7 separate regions of the Homo sapiens genome follow, and regions 1, 2, 3, 5, 6 and 7 are each linked to region 4. The links are contacts of gene promoters, found by promoter capture Hi-C in blood cells and fetal thymus (Javierre and others, 2016). All regions are on one chromosome and are shown on one strand. The core of a region is centred on a gene start or on the middle of the fragment in contact, and the rest is flanking DNA. Distances in the headings are between cores, read along the strand shown.

What was found. Contacts are between HindIII fragments. The CHiCAGO score rates a contact against its expected background, and 5 or more counts as called.
Region 1: a contact is called between a fragment that was not itself captured here and the fragment with the promoter of BRPF1 in region 4, in 1 of 17 cell types (monocytes). The highest score is 5.4, in monocytes.
Region 2: a contact is called between a fragment that was not itself captured here and the fragment with the promoter of BRPF1 in region 4, in 6 of 17 cell types (naive CD8 T cells, naive CD4 T cells, total B cells and 3 more). The highest score is 5.7, in naive CD8 T cells.
Region 3: a contact is called between a fragment that was not itself captured here and the fragment with the promoter of BRPF1 in region 4, in 2 of 17 cell types (monocytes and neutrophils). The highest score is 8.1, in monocytes.
Region 5: the fragment with the promoter of IRAK2 here is called in contact with the fragment with the promoter of BRPF1 in region 4 in 1 of 17 cell types (monocytes); the score reaches 6.2 in monocytes.
Region 6: a contact is called between a fragment that was not itself captured here and the fragment with the promoter of BRPF1 in region 4, in 4 of 17 cell types (naive B cells, monocytes, total CD8 T cells and 1 more). The highest score is 6.4, in naive B cells.
Region 7: a fragment that was not itself captured here is called in contact with the fragment with the promoter of BRPF1 in region 4 in 9 of 17 cell types (fetal thymus, total CD8 T cells, naive CD4 T cells and 6 more); the score reaches 10.4 in fetal thymus.

The regions. Positions count from the first base shown.
Region 1 is chr3:10,205,812-10,209,152 of GRCh38, reverse strand. All of the region lies in intron 3 of IRAK2 (interleukin 1 receptor associated kinase 2), which reads right to left. Among named protein-coding and RNA genes, the nearest start is that of TATDN2, 41 kb to the left of the region's middle. The HindIII fragment of the contact is 5,031 bases long and covers 1-3,341 here.
Region 2 is chr3:9,379,793-9,383,195 of GRCh38, reverse strand. It overlaps THUMPD3 (THUMP domain 3 tRNA guanosine methyltransferase), which reads right to left. Exons shown (of 10, transcript NM_001114092.2): 7 at 2,578-2,693. Among named protein-coding and RNA genes, the nearest start is that of THUMPD3-AS1, 15 kb to the left of the region's middle. The HindIII fragment of the contact is 6,287 bases long and covers 1-3,403 here.
Region 3 is chr3:10,147,255-10,150,132 of GRCh38, reverse strand. VHL (von Hippel-Lindau tumor suppressor) reads right to left here. Exons shown (of 3, transcript NM_000551.4): 3 at 1-346. The coding sequence ends at 168. Among named protein-coding and RNA genes, the nearest start is that of VHL, 6.9 kb to the right of the region's middle. The HindIII fragment of the contact is 5,547 bases long and covers 1-2,878 here.
Region 4 is chr3:9,730,224-9,733,259 of GRCh38, reverse strand. It overlaps BRPF1 (bromodomain and PHD finger containing 1), which reads right to left and starts at 1,525. Exons shown (of 14, transcript NM_001003694.2): 1 at 1,122-1,525. RefSeq lists enhancers at 410-969, 1,530-2,089 and silencers at 1,047-1,176, 1,187-1,236, 1,707-2,066. The HindIII fragment of the contact is 5,381 bases long and covers 1-2,696 here.
Region 5 is chr3:10,163,509-10,166,588 of GRCh38, reverse strand. It overlaps IRAK2 (interleukin 1 receptor associated kinase 2), which reads right to left and starts at 1,670. Exons shown (of 13, transcript NM_001570.4): 1 at 1,541-1,670. The coding sequence starts at 1,634. RefSeq lists silencers at 1,356-1,505, 1,706-1,835. The HindIII fragment of the contact is 5,632 bases long and covers 1-3,080 here.
Region 6 is chr3:10,188,653-10,191,881 of GRCh38, reverse strand. The region is part of intron 2 of IRAK2 (interleukin 1 receptor associated kinase 2); the gene reads right to left. Among named protein-coding and RNA genes, the nearest start is that of IRAK2, 25 kb to the right of the region's middle. RefSeq lists an enhancer at 2,200-2,279. The HindIII fragment of the contact is 8,152 bases long and covers 1-3,229 here.
Region 7 is chr3:9,363,790-9,367,187 of GRCh38, reverse strand. THUMPD3 (THUMP domain 3 tRNA guanosine methyltransferase) reads right to left here. Exons shown (of 10, transcript NM_001114092.2): 2 at 1,868-2,172; 3 at 203-280. The coding sequence starts at 2,119. Among named protein-coding and RNA genes, the nearest start is that of THUMPD3, 2.4 kb to the right of the region's middle. The HindIII fragment of the contact is 3,227 bases long and covers 319-3,398 here.

The sequences.
Region 1 (3,341 bases), core at 590-3,089, 480 kb before region 4:
ATCCTCCGAGGATACATCCCACGGGAGAGCGAGGTCAGAGGCAGGAGAGACCATAACAGGCTGGGAGATGAGGAGGGTTCACAGAGGAAGTGGCACCTGACCTGGGCTTGAAATATGGAGAAACGTTTTCAACAAGCAGATATGGGGCAGTGGAACCAGCCCATGCAGAGGTGGGGCAGTAGAAGGGCCCGGGGCTGGAGTAAGTTAACATCTAGGTACATGAGTTAGCAAACATCATGCCAGGCACTGTTCTAAATACTTCACATCTGTAATACCAGCACTTTGGGAGGCTGAGGCAGGAGGATTGCTTCAGCCCAGGAGTTTGAGATCAGCTTGGGCAACATGACAAGATCCCGTTTCTACAAAAGATTTTTTTTCTTTTTTTTTTTTGAGATGGAGTCTCCCTCTGTTGCCCAGGCTGGAGTGCAGTGGCACAATCTCGGCTCACTGCAAGCTCCGCCTCCCGGGTTCACACCATTCTCCTGCCTCAGCCTCCCGAGTAGCTGGGACTACAGGCGCCCGCCACCACACCCAGCTAATTTTTTGTATTTTTAGTAGAGATGGGGTTTCACTGTGTTAGCCAGGATGGTCTCGATCTCCTGAACTCGTGATCTGCCCACCTTGGCTTCCCAAAGTGCTGGGATTACAGGCATGAGCCACTGCGCTCAGTCCTACAAAAGATTTTTTTTTAATAGCCAGGTATGGTGGTGTACACCTGTGGTCCCCTCTACTTGGGAGGATGAGGATCACTTGTGCCCAGGAGGTCAAGGCTATATTGAGCCATGATCACACCACTGCACTCTAGCCTAGGAGGCAGAATGAGACCCTGTCTCAAAAAAAATCCTTCCCGTGCGTTAACTCATCTAATCCTCATGCCAATCAGGAAATAAGGTACCACTGCACCATTTTCATTGCCTCTTTGCAGATGGTGAAATGAGGCATGGAGAAGTTAAGTCACTTTTCCAAGGGCCTTGGCCTTTGGCCAAGGCCTGCTTCTGTGCGGACCAGCCACCATGGCCCACCTCACCCACAGTCTGTGCCTGCGCCCACCGAGGAGCCCCCCTACCAGACGGCCTCATTAGTCTTCAGATTAATCTTCACATGGGGCACACAGTCATCAGTGGTTCCAGTGTCTATGTTCTTTTTTTTTTTTTTTTTTTGGAAACAGAGTCTCACTCTGTCACCCAGGCTGGAGTGCAGTGGCACAATCTCAGCTCACTGCAAACTCCCCCTCCCAGGTTCAAGCGATTCTCCTGCCTCAGCCTACGAAGTAGCTGGGACTATAGGCGTGCGCCATGATGCCGGCTAATTTTTGTATTTTTATTAGAGATGGGGTTTCACCATGTTGGCCAGGCTGGTTTTGAACTCCTGACCTCAAGTGATCCACTTGCCTCGGCCTCCCAAAGTGCTGGGATTATAGGCGTGAGCCACCATGCTTGGCCATGTCTATGCCCCAATCCCTTAGTGAGTGAACAAGATTCACAAGACGGAATGTTTGACAAGTAGTTTAGGGTCACTTAAACGTGAGGTTAAAGAGGGTGAAATTTCTTCACTAGGCCCCATGTGAAGATTAATCTGAAGACTAATGAGGCCATCTGGTAGGGGGGCTCCTCGGTGGGCGCAGGCACAGACCGTGGGTGAGGTGAGCCATGGTGGCTGGTCCGCACAGAAGCAGGCCTTGGCCAAAGGCCAGAGGCTTCAAACATCATCATCTGGAAATACCTAGGAAGCCCCATGGCAAGGACAGCTTCTGAGTAACTGGGGACCTGACCCTTCCAAAGGAAACTGGACTTGACCCCAAGATTACTGGATAAATCTACCTGCTTCAGGTATTTGTGGCTTACAACATCAGGAAAGGAATGACTCATCTGGAACTTTGGCTATTAAAAAATTTATTTTGGCCTGGGCACAGTGGCTCAGGCTTGTAATCCCAGCACTTTGGGAGGCCGAGGCAGGTGGATCACCTGAGGTTAAGAGTTTAAGACCATGAGCCAAGATTGTGCCACTGCACTCCAGCCTGGGTGACAGAGTGAGACTCCACTTCAAAACAAACAAACAAAAAAACAAACAAAAAGAGTTTAAGACCAGCCTGGCCAACATGGTAAAACCCCATCTCTACAAAAATACAAAAATTAGCCTGGCATGATGGCGAGTGCCTGTAATCCCAGCTACTTGGGAGGCTAAGGCAGGAGAATTGCTTGAACCAGGGAGGCAAAGGTTGCCGTGAGCTGAGCTGTGCCACTGCACTCCAGCCTGGGGGACAGAGCGAGACTGTATCAAAAAAAAAAAATTTGTTTTGGCCAGCACAGTGGCTCACACCTGTAATCCCAGCGCTTTGGGAGGCTGAGGCAGGTGGATCACCTGAGGTCAGGAGTTCGAGACCAGTCTGGTCAACATGGTGAAACCCTGTCTCTACTAAAAATACAAAAATTAGCCGGGCATGGTGGCACATGCCTGTAGGCCCAGCTACTCAGGAGGCTGAGGCACAAGAATCGCTTAAACCTGGGAGGCAGAGGTTGCAGTGAGCCAAGATCATACCACTGCACTCCAACCTGGGCAACAGAGCGAGACTCAGTCTCAAAAAACAAAAAACAAAAAATTTTATTTCACGAGACTGAAAGTAAAATCAGCCTGGCTAAACAATTAACCCACACAGATAGCTGATAACATGAAATCACCTGAGACAAGGTCTGGAGCCTGTCAAGGGGCTGCCCTCAGCCTCATTCCTGGGATCTTTGCCCTGCTGCTGTGTGAATCTAGCAGCCAGGAGAATGCGAGCTGGAGACCCCCAGCTGCTGGGAGCCTGGCTATCTGCGGGCCTGGCTGTGGCTGGCTCCAATCAATCCCTGCATCTGCATCCGGACCATGCTTCCCAGGGGCTGTTCCCCAGGCACTGTGTGCAGAGGGTACACTAGGCAGATAGGACTGTGATGGCCAACGGACACCCTGGAGAGTCTGCCTTAGACCGAAGGCAGGCCAGCAAGTGCCCACCCAGCCTTCCTCGGAAATGGCGCACCATGGTCCCAAGGCTCTCCCAGCCTTGCCCAGCTCCCTCTGCATTTTCTTGCAAGTATTTGTCCTAATGAAATCCTATCTTGTTGATGAAATCCTATCCTGTCTTGGTATCTGCCTCTCACCAAGGACCTGGACTAATGGAGGCCTCTGCTGGCCAGCACAGGGCCCCCGTCCTGCAGAAAGGCTGCTCTGTGATGGCCACTTCCACCCTTGCCCTGCCTTCTCTTGGCCTCAGCTCAGTACCCTTGGCCCGCATCCCTCAGACTGCAGTTATGTTCATCCGGTCTCCAAGTTTTTGGCCATGTCTGTGCCACCTCACTATGAGT
Region 2 (3,403 bases), core at 466-2,965, 350 kb after region 4:
TGGGGACAAAGGAAAGGTGCTTCAACATACTGTGAAGCATAAAGTTATTACAACAATTTTTGTTTCTGAAGAGAGACTGCTACAGCAAAACATAAACTGCTAAGGATATCAGTGATAATATCAACCTATTCAAAATTTAAGAAATGGCACAAAGGTAAAAAATAGGTCAGGCTGGGCATGGTAGCTTGTGCCTATAATCAGCACTTTCAGGGGCTGAGGTGGGAGGATCACTGGACTCCAGGAATTTGAGACCAGCTGAGCAACACTGTGAGACCTTGTCTCTAAAATACTTTTTTAAGAAGTTAGCAGGGCATGATGGCACACACCTATAGTCCCAGCTACTCAGGAGGCTGAGGTGGGAGGATCACTTGAGTCCAGGAGTTGAAAGATGCAGTGAGCTAGGATTGTGCCGCTTTACTCCAGCCTGGGTGACAGAGCAAGACCCCCGTCTCAGAAAAAAGGGAAACAAACTGAAAACATGATTGTAATGCAGAGAACTGCAAAAGACAACTTTAAAAACAATGCTGAAGCAGTAAATTACATAACCGATGATACAAAAATTTAAGTTGCTGATAAAACATACACTGGAGAAAAACAATACTAAAGAATAGATAATGGGGTGATGTATCTGAAGAATAAAGTTTGTAAAACTAGTAATAACAGGAGGCCTAAAAGAAAAACAGATAGTAAAATTGGCAAATATATAGGTAATTGTTTCAAGATGAAAAACCAAAAGGAAAATATGTGCCATGCTATATAAAACAAGACTAAGAAAAAAGTTAAGATAAAAAATATAGATGACAGAAGACAGAATGAATAATAATAAATACAAAGGATTTAAATCCTCCTCATTAAGGCAAAGCAACTGGTTTAAGAAACAAAATAATGCACAGGCTAAGAACTGAAGATAAGTCAAAGGTTATCAGCAGAAATTAAGGATTTAATTGACATTTAATGAAGAATTTAAGAAAAAAATGCAATAAAAGCAATCATTACATAATTTTTAAAAGTACACATAAAATATGTATTATAACCGCATACCAATAACTGCACAAAACAAAAGGCAAAAAATATTAAAAACCAAAGTAAAATGGATAGAAATGTACAGGTTGAGGCCGGGCACAGTGGCTCATGCCTGTAATCCCAGCACTTTGGGAGGCCAAGGTGGGCAGATCATGAGGTCAGGAGATTGAGACCATCCTGGCTAACATGGTGAAAACCCGTCTCTACTAAAAATACAAAAAAAAAATAAGCCGGGCATGGTGGCGGGTGCCTGTAGTCCCAGCTACTTGGGAGGCTGAGGCAGGAGAATGGCGTGAACCCGGGAGGCGGAGCTTGCAGTGAGCCGAGATCAAGCCACTGCACTCCAGCCTGGGCGACAGAGTGAGACTCCGTCTCAAAAAAAAAAAAAAAAAAAAAAAAAAAAAAAAAAAAAAAAAGTACGGGTTGAACAGACAGTGTAGGTACAAACAAGATAAAATATTCAGAAGCTAGAAAGGTACGTTTGTTTAAATGTTTATCAGTTTTAATTAAAAAAAAAAAAGACTGGCCATATACTAGGCTCATTAAAAAAAACCCTCAATAAATATGAAACAACCATTCAAAATTAATTCATCACAATAAATCAGTATTTAAGAAAATTGAAGCCTTCCAACTACTTGTCTTAATACACGTAAAAGGATTTAATGTTGATACATAGACCAGCAGCATCAGCATTGTCCTGGAGTTTCCTGGAAAATGCAGACTCTTAGGTCCCATCCCAAACTACTAAATCAGATCTGTGTTAACAGTACTCCTAGGTGATTCACATGTACATTAATGTTTGAGAAGCACTGTCCTAAAAAATTAGATCAGAGAGACAATGAAATATATAACCAATGACTTAGTAATAAAATAGAGGCGAGGCTATATAAACTGCAGTATTTCTATACGATGGAATTTATGTAGTGACTTTAAAGACTATGGTCCAGGTGTGGTGACTCGTCTCTAATCCCAGCAATTTGGAAGGCTGAAGCGGCAGAATCTCTTGAGGCCAGGAGTTTGACACCAGCCTGGACAAAACAGCAAGACCCCCATCTCTACGAAGATTTTAAAAAATTAGCTGGGCATGGTGGCACATGCCTGTATTCCTAGCTACTAGGGAGGCCAAGGCAGGAGGATTGCTTGAGCTCAGTAGGTTGAGGCTACAGTGAGCCATGATCATGTCACTGCACTCCAGCCTGGGTGACAAAATGAGACCCTGTACCCAAAGCAAAAAAGAAGCCTATGTAAAAATATACTGTTTAAAATTTTGTGAAATTAAAATGAGTCTATAAAATATTCTTCCAATATGTAGGGGAAAAGACATATGAATAAGACAAATGAAAAATTGCATATGGTGGGGAAATTATCGCTAAAATAATATTTTAAAAATATAACTTATTTTCAATAAACTTTAAAAATGTAAATGGAGTCTCATAGTATATTCATTTTGGTTACAATGACGTCACAATGCACTGGGAGTTTTAATTCATAAAGTCAATATAAAAAGTGATTCTCTAACTCTAAAAGATGCTAAGAAATCTTTTAAATTTTTACCCTTCTTTAATTTGGCTCTTGGTCAATAAAGATGCAATGTTATTTGCTGCTCTATTCACAGCCAGTGGATTATTATCACCAGCAATATGGAAACAGTCAGACCATTCAGTGGCCCCCTAAAAGATAAGAGTGTATGTTAAAACAAAAGTAGCAAACTGTAAAATATGATTAAATTGTCAACAAACAAAGAAAATCCAGTGCTTTTCTAGAGTGGCAAAACATTGCATGTTGTCAACTGTGCTATTTCCCTGGCTGAAAATGCCCTCTTATTCTTTCTCTGCTTGCTGAACCTCTACCCATCTCTTAAGACCCAGCTCAAACCTCATGCCCTTTCAACATCAACCTTAACTCTCCAAGCAGTCTTATGTGCCCCTCCCAAAAACACTTTGTATGTACGTACCTCTGCCACTGCACTTGTCCCACGGTTAATTATTTCTTCCCCTTTATGCCTCTCAACTAACCTGGGAGCTCTCTGAGGTCAGGTCTAGTATTTTATTCAGTTCCTCATCCAGCAGTGTCTGGCACACTAAATTCTAAGTTAATGCGGTTTGAAAATATTTGAGATTTGTGGTTGTGGGAGTTTACATAATCTGATATATTTGAAAATTGCAAAATAAAATGCTATTTCCGGCCGGGCATGGTGGCTCACACCTGAAATCCCAGCACTTTGGGAAGCTGAGGCAGGAGGATTTCTTGAGCCCAGGAGTTTGAGACCAGCCTGGGAACATGGTGAAAGCCCATCTCTACAAAAACACAAAAATCAGCTGGGTGTGATGGTGTGCACCTGAGTCTCAGCTACTCGAGAGGCTGAGGTGGGAGAATGGCT
Region 3 (2,878 bases), core at 1-2,500, 420 kb before region 4:
ACAATGCCTAGTGAAGTCAGTTAACTTTCTTTTAAGCAATGGTGCCTATTTTACTCTGAGAATGAGACACTTTGAAACTAAGGAAGGAACCAGTCCTGTATCTAGATCAAGACTCATCAGTACCATCAAAAGCTGAGATGAAACAGTGTAAGTTTCAACAGAAATCTTCAATCTCCCATCCGTTGATGTGCAATGCGCTCCTGTGTCAGCCGCTCCAGGTCTTTCTGCACATTTGGGTGGTCTTCCAGATCTTCGTAGAGCGACCTGACGATGTCCAGTCTCCTGTAATTCTCAGGCTTGACTAGGCTCCGGACAACCTGGAGGCATCGCTCTTTCAGAGTATACACTGGAAGGGCAAAAACCAAATCCTCAGTGGCAGACTAGGGTCTCAGTACAAGGAACGAACAAGAGGCTTTGCCAACAACTACCTGTACTACTGATGGATCTCACTTTAGGTTAAAGAAAAAAAGTGAGTGCATGTATGTGGCAGTGTGTTATGCTGATGGCCCCCTATGGACACCTCATGGTGTTCATGCCTCTGTAGTAATTTCACCTTGAAATGGGCTGGGCTTGTGATTGCTTTAACTAACTGAATGTGGATGAAGCGACACTGGCAATTCTAGGCCGAAGCCTTAAAAAGGCCTGCTGACTTCTGCTTTTATACTTTTGAAAGCCCTGAGCTACCCTGCTAGAGAGACCACATAAAGAGGAACAGGCCCTGGCCAGGCATGGTGGTTCATGCCTGTGATCCCAACACTTTGGGAGGCCAACGTCAGTAGATCGCCTGAGCTCAGGAGTTCGAGACCAGCCTGGCAACATGGCGAAACCCCGTCTCTACAAAATACACAAAAAATTAGCCAGGCATGGTGGCACATGCCTGTGGTCCCAGCGACTGGGGAGGCTGAGGTGGGAGGATCACTTGAGCCCTGGAGGCAGAGGTTGCAGTGAGCTAAGATCATGCCACTGCACTCCAACCTGGGTGACAGAGTGAGACCCTATCTTGAAAAAAAAGAAAAAAGAAAAGAGAAAAAAAAAAAAGAGGGACAGGCCCAGCCCCCAGCTGCCAGCAAAAGGCAGCCACACCAACGACTACCACCAGCAGAGTAACTGCCTAGCTGAGCCCAGCCTGGACTACAGAATTATGAACAAATAAAATGGTGGGCTGGGCGCAGTGGCTCACGCCTGTAATCCTAGCACTTTAGGAGGCTGAGGCAGGCAGACTGCCTGAGCTCAAGAGTTCAAGATCAGCCTGGTCAACATGGTGAAACCCCCGTCTCCACTAAAATGCAAAAAATTAGCCAGGCTTGGTGGTGCACACCTGTAGTCCCAGCTGCTGAAGCAGGAGAATCGCTTGAACCCGAGAGGCAGAGGTTGCAGTGAGCCAAGATCACACGCCACTGCACTCCAGCCTGGGTGACACAGTGAGACTCTGTCTCAAAAAAAAAAAAAAGGTGGTTATTAGTTTTGGGGTGGTAGTCACAAAACACATAACCAAAACAATGTGTACTTAGAAAATCTAGGCCGGGCGCGGTGGCTCACGCCTGTAATCCCAGCACTTTGGGAGGCCGAGGCGGGCGGATCACGAGGTCAGGAGATCGAGACCATCCCGGCTAAAACGGTGAAACCCCGTCTCTACTAAAAATACAAAAAATTAGCCGGGCGTAGTGGCGGGCGCCTGTAGTCCCAGCTACTTGGGAGGCTGAGGCAGGAGAATGGCGTGAACCCGGGAGGCGGAGCTTGCAGTGAGCCGAGATCCCGCCACTGCACTCCAGCCTGGGCGACAGAGCGAGACTCCGTCTCAAAAAAAAAAAAAAAAAGAAAATCTAGTACAACTGAATTGGGTATCCCAATTCCTATTTTACACTCACTGGAAACGTACTCGAGGGTATTCTATAAGGCAAATTTACCAAATTTAACTTAGCAATGCTCATTTTTATATATCTACTTCCTTAAAACAGGATCTATACACACATAGTAGTTTGAATCCTATGAAACCCATGTATTTGGGGGGTTTTTGAGTTTTTTTTTTCTTTTTTTGAGACAGGATCTCACTCTGTCACCTGGGCTGGAGTGCAGTGGTATGATCATGGCTCACTGCAGCCTCAAACTCCTGGGCTCAAGGGATCCTCCCACCTAAGCCTCCCAAATAGCTGTGACCACAGGCATATGCTAAGATGCCCAGGTAATTAAAAAAAAATTTTTTTGTGGAGCTGGGGTCTCACTTTGTTGTCCAGGCTGGTCAAGAACTCCTGGTCTCAAGCGACCCTCCCGCCATAGCCTCCCTAAGTGCTGGAATTACAGGCATGATTACAGGCAGGAGCCACCACACACTGCTGGTCTTTAGTGAGGTTTTTTTTACCCACAGGAACATCAGTTTATTAGGGTTTACCCTGATAAAATCATTTGAGCTTCAAACAAATAGTGAAGTATTATACCAATCTTCAATGATTTAAAAAAAAAAAAAAACAGGCTGGACGCAGTGGCTCACGCCTGTAATCCCAGCACTTTGGGAGGCTGAGGTGGGCAGATCACCTGAGGTCAGGAGTTCAAGATCAGCCTGGCCAACATGGTGAAACCTCATCTCTACTAAAAATACAAAAATTAGCCAGGTGTGGTGACAGGCACCTATAACCCCAGCTACCCAGGAGGCTGAGGCAGGAGAATCACTTGAACCCAGGATGCAGAGGTTGCAGTGAGCTGAAATCGCACCACTGCACTCCAGCCTGGATGACACTGTGAGACTCTCTAAAAATAAAAATAAAAAAAAAAAAAACACCTCTGATTGGCACTGTGAGCTTGATTGTGTTAAATTGAAAATACATAGGCCAGGTGCTGTGGCTGATGCCTGTAATCCCAGCACTTTGGGAGGCGTAGGCGG
Region 4 (3,036 bases), core at 276-2,775:
TGCAGAAATCACTGGATCACAGAAAGAATTCATTTACTTTTGAGGTCTTTATGGGGAGCCTGGCCCTGGTACTGGGTAGGAGATGTACTGTGAAACAAAGTGAAAACTGAGGTCATTTAGTCAGTGACAGCAGCTTGTATTACATTTGAGCTGTTCACCCACTCACACATCAACTGAGTGACTACCAAGTGCCAGGCCCTAAGGGTACAAACACGAACGCGACAATCTAGGCATGCTCAGCTCCATGCTGGTCCGCAGGGGCCCTCCCTCCCCGCTCCCCAACATTCCTGGGTGAGTGTAGACAGCAGATGGCACCAGGCCTCAGGAAGCCCAGCTTGGTCAGAGACTGCCCCAATTTCTCTCGGCCTAGTTGAGTTCAACCATTCAGCTAGGGGCTTGGCACCATCCCAGCCAGGCAGGGCTATCATGAGCTCCCTGACAAAATAACCCCTCTTGGCCTCTCCACCTGTGCCTTAACCAGGCAAGTGGGCTGCTCCAGCTCCACTGTCAACGGCTCCTGATTTTCACATCAGTAACGCTACACGTCCAACTGCAACTCTTCTATTTCCTACCTGCGGCTGTGTCTTTAAACATAAACCAACCGAAGCACAAACAAGCTCTCCTCTTTCCAAGCTGGGTCCCGGGTGAATGGTTCCCAAAGTAGCACAGCGAATCAGCAATCTCCCCTTGGAACCCGGCAGCAGAGGCACAGGCGAGGGAGACGAGAACTTAGACCAGAAAGCCCGTGGGGAGGGCCCAAGGAGAATGGCGGCTGCATCTGCCCCTGAAGCTCAGGGGGCTGGAGGAAGTAAGGGGCGGGGGCCGGAGGGATAGGGCTGGGCCCCGGCAGTGCCCGCAGCCCACTCTCCGGATGCGGCGGCGTTTCCCCTTTGTGGAAGTGTAACAAGTGAAACAAGGCTCCCCGCCTGCCACTAGCCCGGGCAGCCCCGAAAGATACACTGTTGCCCCAGGATGCCTGCTGGGAAGCAATGCACTGTCAGTTCTCCCAACTGGAGTTGCCAGAGAGGTTCCCGGGCCACGCGGCTCAGTGCGCGTCCCACGAACGTAGCCTACCCCTTCCCTGCCGGCCACTCCCGCCCTGGTCCCAGGCCCGCACTCACCGGCCACCTCGAGTCCGGGCTCATCGCCGGGGGCGCCCGCCGGGGCTCCGACCCCACTTGGGGAGGTCGGCGGGGAAAGTCGGGCCGGGAAGGGGGAGCCCCAACTCCGGAGACCGTAGACCTCGCCACCCCGGCCCCCTGCCGCCCCACGCTTTGGTCCCGGCTCCCCGGGATTCCTGAGCTGACCCCTGCCGCTCCTGGTCCCGCCGGCGCCCTGGGGTCTCAACTCCGTCGGCCGCCGCCCGTTTCGCGAGCCCCCAAGATGCCCGGTCTCGGGACCGGGCGCTGCTGGAACAATGGAGGCTCCCAGAGGCAGCGCGAGGACAGCGGCGGCGGAGACCGTGGCGGCAAAGGCTGTGGCAGCGGCGGCGGCAGCAGCGGCGGCGACGGCGTCTGCGCAGGGTAAACGTGGCGCCGCGGCGCTACTGAGCTGCACTTTCGCCACGGATCCCCGCCCGCCCGCTGAGGCTCGAAAGACCGTGCTCCGGGATTCAGAAAGGACCCTGGACACCCCACAGGGCTTCTCTAGCTCTCCCATCTTAGAGTGGAGTTTCTGGAGACTGAAGTCACCGTACTCGGGATCTGGGGTCGTCGGGCGGTTTGTGGCGAATCTGCAACCACGGACGGTGAGCGCGGGGCTGGGCGTGAGGAGCCCGCCCTTCTCCCCTCCCCCTCTGCCTCCTCCCTATCCGCTCCCTGCCTCCTGCTGGCGCCGCGGCTGCGGGAGGGACCTGGCCTTGGTCTCGGAGGAAGGCGGTGAGGCGGGGCCAGAGTCACGGGGCGGGGCTGGGGGCAGGGCCGGGAGCAAGAGGGATGCGGGCTGGAGCCTAAGGGACCGGTAGTTATGGGTAGGACCGGGGCGGGGCTGGAGACTAGACCGGTCTGTGGGGCGGGGCTTGTGGGAGGGGGCGGGGCTACCGCACAGCGGGGGCCTGTTAGAATAGCGGGGTAAAAAGTGGGGCTAAACAGAAGAAGAGTACTCGCGAGAGAAAGGGCGGAGCTTTGGATGAGCCTGGAAAGTGGAGCTGGACTAGAAATAAAGAACAAAGTTGGAAAAAGCGATGCGACGCTGAAGGGAGCAGGCGGGGCTTGGTAAGGCAGGGGCGGAGCTGTGGGGAAAGGGCAGGACCGATTAGGGATAACGGGGCGTGACTGAAGGAAAGGGAAGAAACTTGGGAAAAGTAAAGGAGAGGTGCTAGAGAAAAGGTATGGGTCTGAGAGAAGGGGCTGGTTTGGGGCCGGTGGGTGTGAAAGGGCTTGTCTGGTAAAGCGGTGGGAAATCTGTGGGTTGGCAGGGATGTGCTGCGGGTTGCTGATTGGAACATGGTGCCAAAACAGCTGATTTAATGTGAGTGGGTCACCTCCTAGCAATGTGAACGTGGGCAAGTTCAGTTCTTTAAGTTCCTTATTTGTAAAACAGAGCTCGAAAACTCTGTTGTTAGTTCTTGAGGGTTTCAGAGAACTTGCATGGCAGGGGGAGACATCCTTAAACAATACTTCTCCAGTTTTGTCATCAAAGAGGAGCGTGAAAGGTCTTCCAGGGTTCTGGGACAAAGCCCAAAGCATCTGAAAGCTTCTATCTTCTTAATGCAAACTTTGCATTTGACCCAATAAAATGTATGTTTTCTAAAAACCATCCCAATAAAATCGACATGCCAGGAAGAGGTTTGCTGATTAAGATCTTGGGATCTGAAGTCAAACTGATGAATTATCTTAAATGACTCATCTTCTCAGAGCCTCAGTTTCCTTATGGGTAAAGTGGGAATAATATATAGTACCTGTTCTCAGAGTTGTTGTGAGAATTAAATGAGATGATGCTTGTAAATCACCTAGCACACGGTTTGACATGTAGTGAATGTTCAAAGAAAATATTAGCTGTTATTATCCTTATTAAAATAATTCAGAATAGATGGAT
Region 5 (3,080 bases), core at 421-2,920, 430 kb before region 4:
TATACAGTATTTTCATTCCTCACAACTTTATGAAGAAGCTATAATTATCATCTCCAGTTTACATACAGATTCAGAAGCTGAGGCTCAGAGAGGTTAACAAACTGGCCCAAAGTCATACAGCAAGAGCCTGGAATGCAGATCTCCACCTGGAAAGCAGAGACAACAGGCAAGCGGCCTCCCCGCAGAGTCCATGGCCCTCTCCGCCAGTCATCCGTCAGGCACCAACAAACAAAACATATGGAGGCTGTCTGAGTGCCTTCCCACGGAATTATCTAGAACTGTGCACCTTGCAATAGAGTGAAAGTAAGTGCTTGTGCTTAGGCCCCATTATACACACTGAATCTATTAGGACACATCTGATCTCAAAACAGGTTGATAGTCATAAATACTGTGATCAAAACAATGTACACTAAAAGTAAATATCTGATTTTAAAACTATAATGGTAAAGTACATTTAATCACAAATATGATAAATAGGCTGGGCACAGTGGCTCACGCCTGTAATCCCAGCACTTTGGGAGGCCGAAGCAGGTGGATCGCCTGAGATCAAGAGTTCCGGAGGCCGGGCGCGGTGGCTCATGCCTGTAATCCCAGCACTTTGGGAGGCCCAGGGTGGGCGGATCACAAGGTCAGGAGATCCAGACCATCCTGGCTAACACGGTGAAACCCCGTCTCTACTAAGAATACAAAGTTAGCCGGGCGTGGTGGCGGGCGCCTGTAGTCCCAGCTACTCAGAAGGCTGAGGCAGGAGAATGGCGTGAACCCGGGAGGCGGAGCTTGCAACGAGCCTAGATCGCGCCACTGCACTCCAGCCTGGGCGACAGAGTGAGACTCCGTCTTAAAAAAAAAAAAAAAAAAAAAAAAAAATAGTTCAAGACCAGTCTGGCCAACATGGTGAAACCCGGTCTCTACTGAAAATACAAAAAATTAGCCAGGGTGGTAGCGGGCGCCTGTAATCCCAGCTACTCGGGAGGCCGAGGCAGGAAAATCGCTTGAATCCCAGAGGTGGAGGTTGCAGTGAGCCGAGACCGTGCCATTGCACTCCAGCCTGGGCAACAACAGCGAAACTCCGTTTCAATATATATATATATGTTAAATCATAGATCCTTCTAATATACACTAAAACTAAACACACCACACACACACACACACACACCCCCCCAAGAAGTGACAGCACCGTGGGTCCCTACAGGGTCGAGGCTCGCACTTTGCAGGCTGTTGTGGGCTGGATGAGAGGCCACCTGGGGACGTCACCGAGCCAGCAGCGCTGACAGGAGGGCCCCCGTACCCACCGTTCTCTGGACTCAGAGCGCAGTGGCGGCGGCCCCTGCTCGTCGACAGACGTCCTCAGAGACCACGCGGCACCTTCAGGTGACAGGCCGAGGTCCGCGGCGGACCCGGTCCAGGAGGCTCAGCTCGCACGCCCTCGGATCGGGACCCGCTGAACCCGGGTGCCCGAGGGAGCTTGGCGGCCGCTCCAGGCGGGATCGCTGGGGGCTCCGGTCGCCCTGGTCCCCTCCCCTCCCCGGGCCGCACTCACCGAACTCCATCCAGTCCCACTCGCTGAGCGCGTCCATGTTGCGGCACAGGTCGTCCAGCACCCAGGAGGGCAGCTGGTAGATGTAGCAGGCCATGGCACGCTACGGGGCCGGCTCCGGCGCGGGACGACTGGGTCGGACACTGCGGGCTGCGGCTTCTCTAGCCAGGGGCGGACCGGCGGGGAAGTGGGCGGGGCGGGAGGGCACCAGCGTCCCCAGCGGCCACGGGCGGCACGACGGCCCCGCCGGCTCCACCCCAGCGCCGGCCAGAGAATCGGAACTGCGAGGGGAAACTGAGGCCCTGGTGGGAGAAGGCCACACGGGAATTCTGCCGCAGCGGCAGGAGGCCTTCTGACCCCACTTCCATCGGCACTACACCATGCATCATGCGCTCATCAAATACTCCATTAATTACCTACTGTATGCCAGGCAACTCCCTAGGTGTTGGTAATACCTGAATAAGAAACCCTACAGCCGGGCGCGGTGGATCACTCCTGTAATCCCAGTACTTTGGGAGGCCGAGGCGGACGGATCACGAGGTCAGGAGTTCGAGACTAGCCTGGCCAATATGGTGAAACCCCGTCACTACTAAAAATACAAAAATTAGCCGGGCACGGTGGCGCACGCCTGTAGTCCCAGCTACCTGGGAGGCTGAGGCAGAAGAATCGCTTGAACCCTGGAGGCGGAGGTTGCAGTAAGCCCAGATTGTGCCCTTGTACTCCAGCCTGGGTGAAGAGTGAGGCTCTGTCTCAAAAAAAAAAAAAAAAAAAAAAAAAAGCCTACAAAAGCCCTTGCTTTCATAAGACTTACAATCTAGGTGTGGAGAGAAAGACTAACAATAAATAATAAATATAGTATGTTACAGAGTGTCTTAAAGGTAATAAGCACTATTGCAAAAAAAAAAAAAAAGGAAAAAAAGTTGGTTAAAGGGAATCAGGAATTCAGATTGAGCATGGGGAATATTCTATTAAATAGGGTAGTCAGGTAGACTTTACTATAGTAGCTAATATGTATCGTGCAGCTACTATGTGCCAGGCACTGTTGTAGGTGCTGGGAATACCTCTGAAGAGAAGGACAAAATCCTTGTCCTGGAGGGAGACAGACAACAAGCAATAAAAATAGGCAGATAAGCTATGTTGGAGAATGAAAGTAGAAGCCTGGGCAACATAGGAAGATCTTATCTCTACAAAAAACTTTTTTTTTTTGAGACGGAGTCTTGCTCTGTAGCCCAGGCTGGAGTGCAGTGGCGCAATCTTGGCTCACTGCAGCCTCTGCCTCCCAGGTCCCGGTTCAAGCAATTCTCCTGCCTCAGTCTCCCGAGTAGCTGGGATTACAGGCACGCGCCACCACGCCCAGCTAATTTTTGTATTTTTAGTAGAGACAGGGTTTCACTGTGTTGGCCAGGATGGTCTTGAACTCCTGACCTCGTGATCCGCCTGCCTCGGCCTCCCAAAGTGCTAGGATTACAGGCATGAGCCACCACGCCTGGCCTCTACAAAAAATTTTAAAATGAGCCAAGCATGGTAGTGTACACCTATAGTC
Region 6 (3,229 bases), core at 211-2,710, 460 kb before region 4:
ATTTTGTGTTAGGGAATGGGGAATCCTTTATCAAAACTGCCGTAATACTGACATTAAGCTAGTTAAATAAAAGACATCTAATTATAAACTGGGAGGTGCTCTATGCTGAAAACAAACTCGAGGGAGGGGTGCCTGATGGACCTACTTCCATAGGCTGGCCAGGAAAAGCTGCCATGAGAAGGGGCCACATATGCAGACACCCAGAGGATGAAAAGGACTAGCATGGAAGAATGTAGGGAAGCTGGGGAGAGACAGCATTCCAAGGAGAGGGAACACGTGTGCAAAGGTCCTTAGGCAGCAAACACTTGGCATATCCCCGCAAGTGAAGGATGACCGTAGTGGCTGAGGGGAATGACTGAGGGGGAAAGTGGTAGAGGTGAGGTTGAAGAGCCGGGCAAAGGTAGACCATGCAGGGCCTTGTAGGCCACAGTTAGGCAGAACCTTACTGTAAGCGCCCTGGAACTGAGGTAACCTGTAGCTGAGAGAGTACTTACCAAATAACCATCTGCTCTGTCTCATACTCCTGCCTCCTTAGCAATTAGGCTGGGCGTCACGACTGGTTCTAGCCAGTGGATTTTTTTTTTTTTGAGACAGATTCTCGCTCTGTTGCCCAGGCTGGAGTGCAGTGGCGCGATCTCGGCTCACTGCAAGCTCCGCCTCCCGGGTTCAAGCAATTCTCCTGCCTCAGCCTCTTGAGTAGCTGGGACTACAGGCACCCGCCACCACGCCCAGCTAATTTTTTTTTATTTTTAGTAGAGACGGGGTATCACCATGTTAGCCAGGATGGTCTCGATCTCCTGACCTTGTGATCCGCCGGCCTCGGCCTCCCAAAGTGCTGGGATTACAGGCTTGAGCCACCGCGCCCGGCCTAGCCAGTGGATTTTAAGTGAAGATGCTATCTATCACTTCCTGGACGAAGCACTTAACAGCTAGTGAGCCTCTTCCAACCCTCTCTTCCCCAGCCACAGTGACTTTGGAAGCCACATGTTCTAGATGACTTAGCTGGCTACAAGAATGCAGGAGGCTGCATGACCCTTACTGGACTTCAGGTGAGTGGGAAATCAATATTTGTTGCGTTGAGGAACTAGATTTCAAGGTTTATCTGATACCGCAGCATAACCAAGCCTATCCTGGCTAATGCATCATCTGAGTATGTGTCCAAAACTTGCAACTGGAGGAGACTAGTTGTAAGAGCTAAGCATCTAGCAGGAGTTCAATAAAGGATGGTTCACTTCACCCTAGCTCTTACCCTTCCTCTCTGAAACACTGGGGACTGGCTTAGAGGCATTCCACACTCTGTTCATTCTAACACCACTCTCAAGAGACCAACAGTGATTAAAGCCTTGCTTTTTTCCAATGGAATAATGAATGCATGGAAGGAAAAGGTCAAGTGACCTGTCCTTAGCCACTCAGCAATTAACTTTAAGAAAACCTCTAGCTGGGCGTGGTGGTGGGCGCCAGTAGTCCCAGCTACTCGGGAGGCTGAGGCAGGATAATTGCTTGAGTCCACGAGGCAGAGGTTGCAGTGAGCCAAGCTCATGCCACTGCACTTCAGCCTGGACAACAGAGTGAGACTCTGTCTCACAAAAAAAAAAAAAAAAAGAAACAAAGAAAACCTCACCATCTCGTATGCTTTGAACCTTCCCAGTCTACAAGAAAAGTAGATAGGGCAATGTCTTTACCCATTTTCCAGATGGGGCAAGTGATGATGCAATCTAGTAACCTACCAAGAAGCGGGTAAGGTCAGGCAGACCTGAATTCCCATGTTGGCCTCATCACTATGGGCTATGTGGCCTTGGGAAATTACTTAATCTCTGAGCCTCAGTTTCCTCTTCTATAAAATAGGGATAATAAGAGTTGTGAGAAAAGATGCTTACCTGGCACATATCAGGTGCTAAACACAAGCTATTACTAGAACCCAGGTGCTCTGACCCCTGGCCTGTGGTTTTGGCCCAAAACAGTGTCGCCTCCAGTGGCAAGTCTGCAGTGGGCAGGGTCTGGATGTAGGCATGTTCTGTTGTGCCCTAGCAGCTGGAAAGGGGCGGAGGCAGGGCAGCCTTCCAAGAGAGCAGACACACAAGCCCTGTCTGGACCTGGCACAGCCCGGCCCCTTCCGGAGAGGAAGGGTTCATTCTCTTCTGTTTCATTTTACATAGCAGCCCCAAATTTTCCACTCAATGAGAGCCCAGCTCCAGGAAGGAAATGACTCTGGCCGAGATGCCAAACCCAAAGTTAGAAACTGTCAAGAGTTGCACAACCAAGAAGAAACTGCATGAAAATTGTGAAACTCAAGACTTCAGGTAGATAGTAGCAACAGATGGGAAGAGAAAACCTTGGTCACTTCCCAAATCCCTTCGGATTCCTGAAGTGTCTTCCTGTCCTACTCAGTTGACATCTGGAACCTCACAGGCCCAGCCCCCCAGTCCATATAGTGGCCAAAACAGGGGATACTCCCAGGTGGAAGCCCTCCAACGTCTTCCCTTCACTCTCCGGTGAAAGCAAACTCTTGGCGGTAGCCTGCATGGCACTGGGTGGCCTGACCCTGCCCTGTCCCCAGCCTCAGCCCACCCCCAGGCCTTTGTACATGCTGCTCCCCCCGGCTAGATATGTGTGTGTCGTCCTTCACTTCTTGGTCCACTATTCCTTACGGAGGAGGCTCAAGTTTCACTGCCTCAGAGAAACTTCCCCTGATGAGATCAAATCCTCTCATCTTGCACTCTCCTACCTGCCCTCCCCACCTGACCTACATTTATCCTTTGAGCACTCATACTGCAGTGGGTGACATGCATCTGTGTGTTAGCTTCTTATAATTCATCTCCCACTGGACTGTAAGCTCCATGAGGCCTGAGACCTTGGCTGTGTTTTCATGGTTGCATCCCCAGCATCTAGCGCACAGTAGGCACTCAGCAAATGTATTTTTAGGCCAGGCGCAGTGGCTCATGCCTATAATCCCAATATTTTGGGAGGCCAAGGCGGGTGGATCACTGAGGTCAGGGATTCAAGACCAGCCTGGCCAACACGGCAAAACCCTGTCTCTACTAAAAATACAAAAATTAGGCCAGGCACAGTGGTTCACACCCGTAATCCCAGCACTTTGGGAGGCCAAGGCAGGGGGATCACCTGAGGTCGGGAGTTTGAGACCAGCCTGACCAACATGGAGAAACCCTGTCTCTACTAAAAATACAAAATAAGCCGGGCGTGGTGGCGCATGCCTGTAATCCCAGCTACT
Region 7 (3,398 bases), core at 683-3,182, 370 kb after region 4:
TAATGGTTTTCAATACTAATTTTCAAAAAACATCTTTTGGGATAGACTGTCAGCAAAACTCTAGATTTTACTGTAAAAGCCTCCCAGTATTCTCTATTACAAAGACTACAGTAATGCTAAACTTTCACAGACTATGAAAAATGGAAATAATCTCTTTGTGGAAGACAGCCAAAAATCAGCCACCATGTTTAGGATAGCTCACCTTTGTTTGTTTGAACTGGTAATCTTGAAACTCCTGAACCACCACAAATAAGTTATCAACTGATCTCAGACAATGAACCTGGGTGAAAAAAAAAGAAACACATTTCTGAGAAAGCTTTTGAACAGCACAAGCTATCAACAATTAAGTATTTAAAAAATTAGGAATGATAGTTTTAAAGCAGCTACTAACTATATTTTGTATTTTTAAAATGTCCCATCTCCCTAGTTTCTCATCTCTTTGGTTACTAATCAGCTTTCCCCTAGAGAAAGGGAAAAAGGGCAGATGGAAAGAGAGAAGCATGAAGTGTTTTGTGGGCAACACGTCTTTTGTGGGAGAAGAGAAAGGTGAAGCCACTCAGGTGGGCTGTATCATATTTCCTCGATGACTTTCTAGGGTACACTGTATGCTGCAATGGTTAAAAGCAGGGGATTTGAGCTCCAGTTCTGTGATTACTAGCTGAGTGGCCCTGGGGAAATTATTTATGTGTCCTAAGCCTAATGATTAATGAGGATAATAATAGTGCCTATCTTCACAAAGCTGCTGAGGGTATTGGCTAAAATATTGGATGGAAAACATTTGCTTACCAATTCATCCCACAGATATTTTCTGGGTACCTACTATATGCCAGACACTAAGAGCGTGGGATATATTGGTGGAAAAAAAAATAGACAACAATCCTTGCCCTCTCACTGCTTATGTGGTAATGAGATATATCAGCTTTATGATAGTGAGATTGCAGTTTTCTGACCTTCACTTTTTACCTTGAGTGAGTCCTAATTACTTCTGAGCAAGAATTTTTGATGCAAATTAAAAGGAAAATCTCTTTTATGTTTCATCACCAAAGGTTAAACATCTGCTATATGCTGAAGTAAATAAATACTGAGATACTTAGAGAATTTCTTAAGTTGAACAGTATTCTTTCTGGTGAATTCAATCCTCAAGAAATACTAGATCACCTCTAAAAATGTAGCAATCCTACTACAGGTTGAGCAGCCCACATCTAAAAATCTGAAACTTTTTGAGCCCCAACACAATGCTGAAAGGAAATGCTCAGTGCAGCATTTCGGATTTTCAGATTAGAAATGCTCAACTGGCAGGCCGAGCGCAGTGGCTCAGGCCTGTAATCCCAGCACTTTGGGAGGTCGAGGCGGGTGGATCACGGGGTTAGGAGTTCGAGACCAGCCTGGCCAGGATGGTGAAACCCCGTTTCTACTAAATATACAAAAATTAGCCAGATGCGGTGGCGGGCGCCTGTAGTCCCAGCTACTGGGGAGGCTGAGGCAGGAGAATTGCTTGAACCTGGGAGGCGGAGGTTGCAGTGAGCCAAGATCGCGCCATTGCACTCCAGCCTGATGACAGAGCAAGACTCTGTCTCAAAGAAAAAGAAAAAAAAAAGAAATGCTCAACTGGCAAGTATAATGCAAATATTCCAAAACTCCCCCCACCCCCCTCCAAAAATCTGAAACACTTTTGGTCCTAAGGGATACTGAAACTACAGTCAAAATTACAAATCAGTACTCAATAGAAAATGCAGTAACTTTAAAATCACCTGATTTGGGGCAGAGCAATGAAAATCAGAAAGGATTCCAGAAGGGTCTATAAAATGAAAAGTAACCATAAAATGATCAACTTAGAAAACTATTTTAAATATTGCTCCATTCAAACCTGTGCCAGACTTTCCACTGAAATGACAAAATATATCTTGCCACGGTCTCTGCTGATTTTGCATGATGACCCAAGTTTCTCTCTGACTTCATCTGCAGCTGTTTGCTCAAAGCCAGTAGGTACAGTGGCTCCAATAGTGACTAGAAGCTCAGATTCACTTCCGAGGTCACTTTCTGTCACTTGTACAGACTTCTGGTTCTCATGAAGGTTCACATCTAGGAGTTGGTTAGTGGCTTCTTCAATGTCACACATGTTGGCTGTGCTTCCAAGATCCCTAACACTGTCTCTTTAAAAGCAGTACTGTCCTTTAAAAGAAAAAGAAATAAAGCCCAAATATTATCATCTCATATTTCAGTTATAATTAAAAACATGGGCTCTGGAGGGCAGGAAGAACAAGGCAACACATCTGATAAACAGTCACCAAAGTAAAAAGGGTTGAATAAACATGGGCACAGAGTGCAGGCTGTAAAACATGATGTTATTATTAAAGAAGCAATACAGATACCATGGGAGAAAAAGAGACAAGAAGTATTTCCATAGCATGCAATGTTTGCTTTGGGGTAACCCATGTTGACAAAAGCCATTTCATAACTACGACAGAAACTGCAGATCACATTCAAATCCATTTCTGCATCTAGATGTTAAGAACATGGTTAGTTAAGAATATAGGGCTTGGCTGGGCGTGGTGGCTCACACCTGTAATCCCAGCACTTTGGGAGGCCGAGGCGGGCAGATTGCCTGAGGTCAGGAGTTCAAGACCAGCCTGGCCCACATGGTGAAACCCCGTCTCTACTAAAAATACAAACATTAGCCAGGTGTGGTGGTGGGAGCCTGTAATCCCAGCTACTTGGGAGGCTGAGGGAGGAGAATTGCTTGAATCCGGGAGGTGGAGATTGCAGTGAGCTGAGATCATGCCACTGCACTCCGGCTGGGGTAACAGAACAAGACTCTGTCTCAAAAAAATAAATAAATAAATAAAATAAATAATAATAATAATAATAATATGGGGCTTTTGGAGTTTCAGATAGATACAGGTTTGAATTCTTGCCTCCACCATCATAGGTTGAATGACTTATGGCAAATTAATTCTCCCAAACCTTCAAATGTAATTAAGTAATTAGTAATACCTCTTTCCTAGAGTCGTTAGGAGACAAGTGAGAGTAGTACCTGGTTAGGCCAATAATTAAAACTTATTAATAGGCTATCTATCTTCTTCCCTCCTGTGAAATAGCATTTCATGCATTTAAAAATGATTAACTGGGCTGGGCACACTGGCTCATGCCTGTAATCCCAGCACTTTAGGGAGCTGAGGTGAGTAGATTGCTTGAGGCCAAGAGTTCGAGACCAATCTGCGTAAGATGGCAAAATCTCATCTCTACCAAAAACACAAAAAATAGCTGGGCGTGGTGGTGGGCGCCTGGAGTCCAGCTACTTGGGAGGCTGAGGTGGGAGGACTGCACTCCAGCCTGGGTGACACAGTGAGGCCCTGTCTCAAAAAAAAAAAAAAAAAAAAAGAAAAAATTAAAAATAA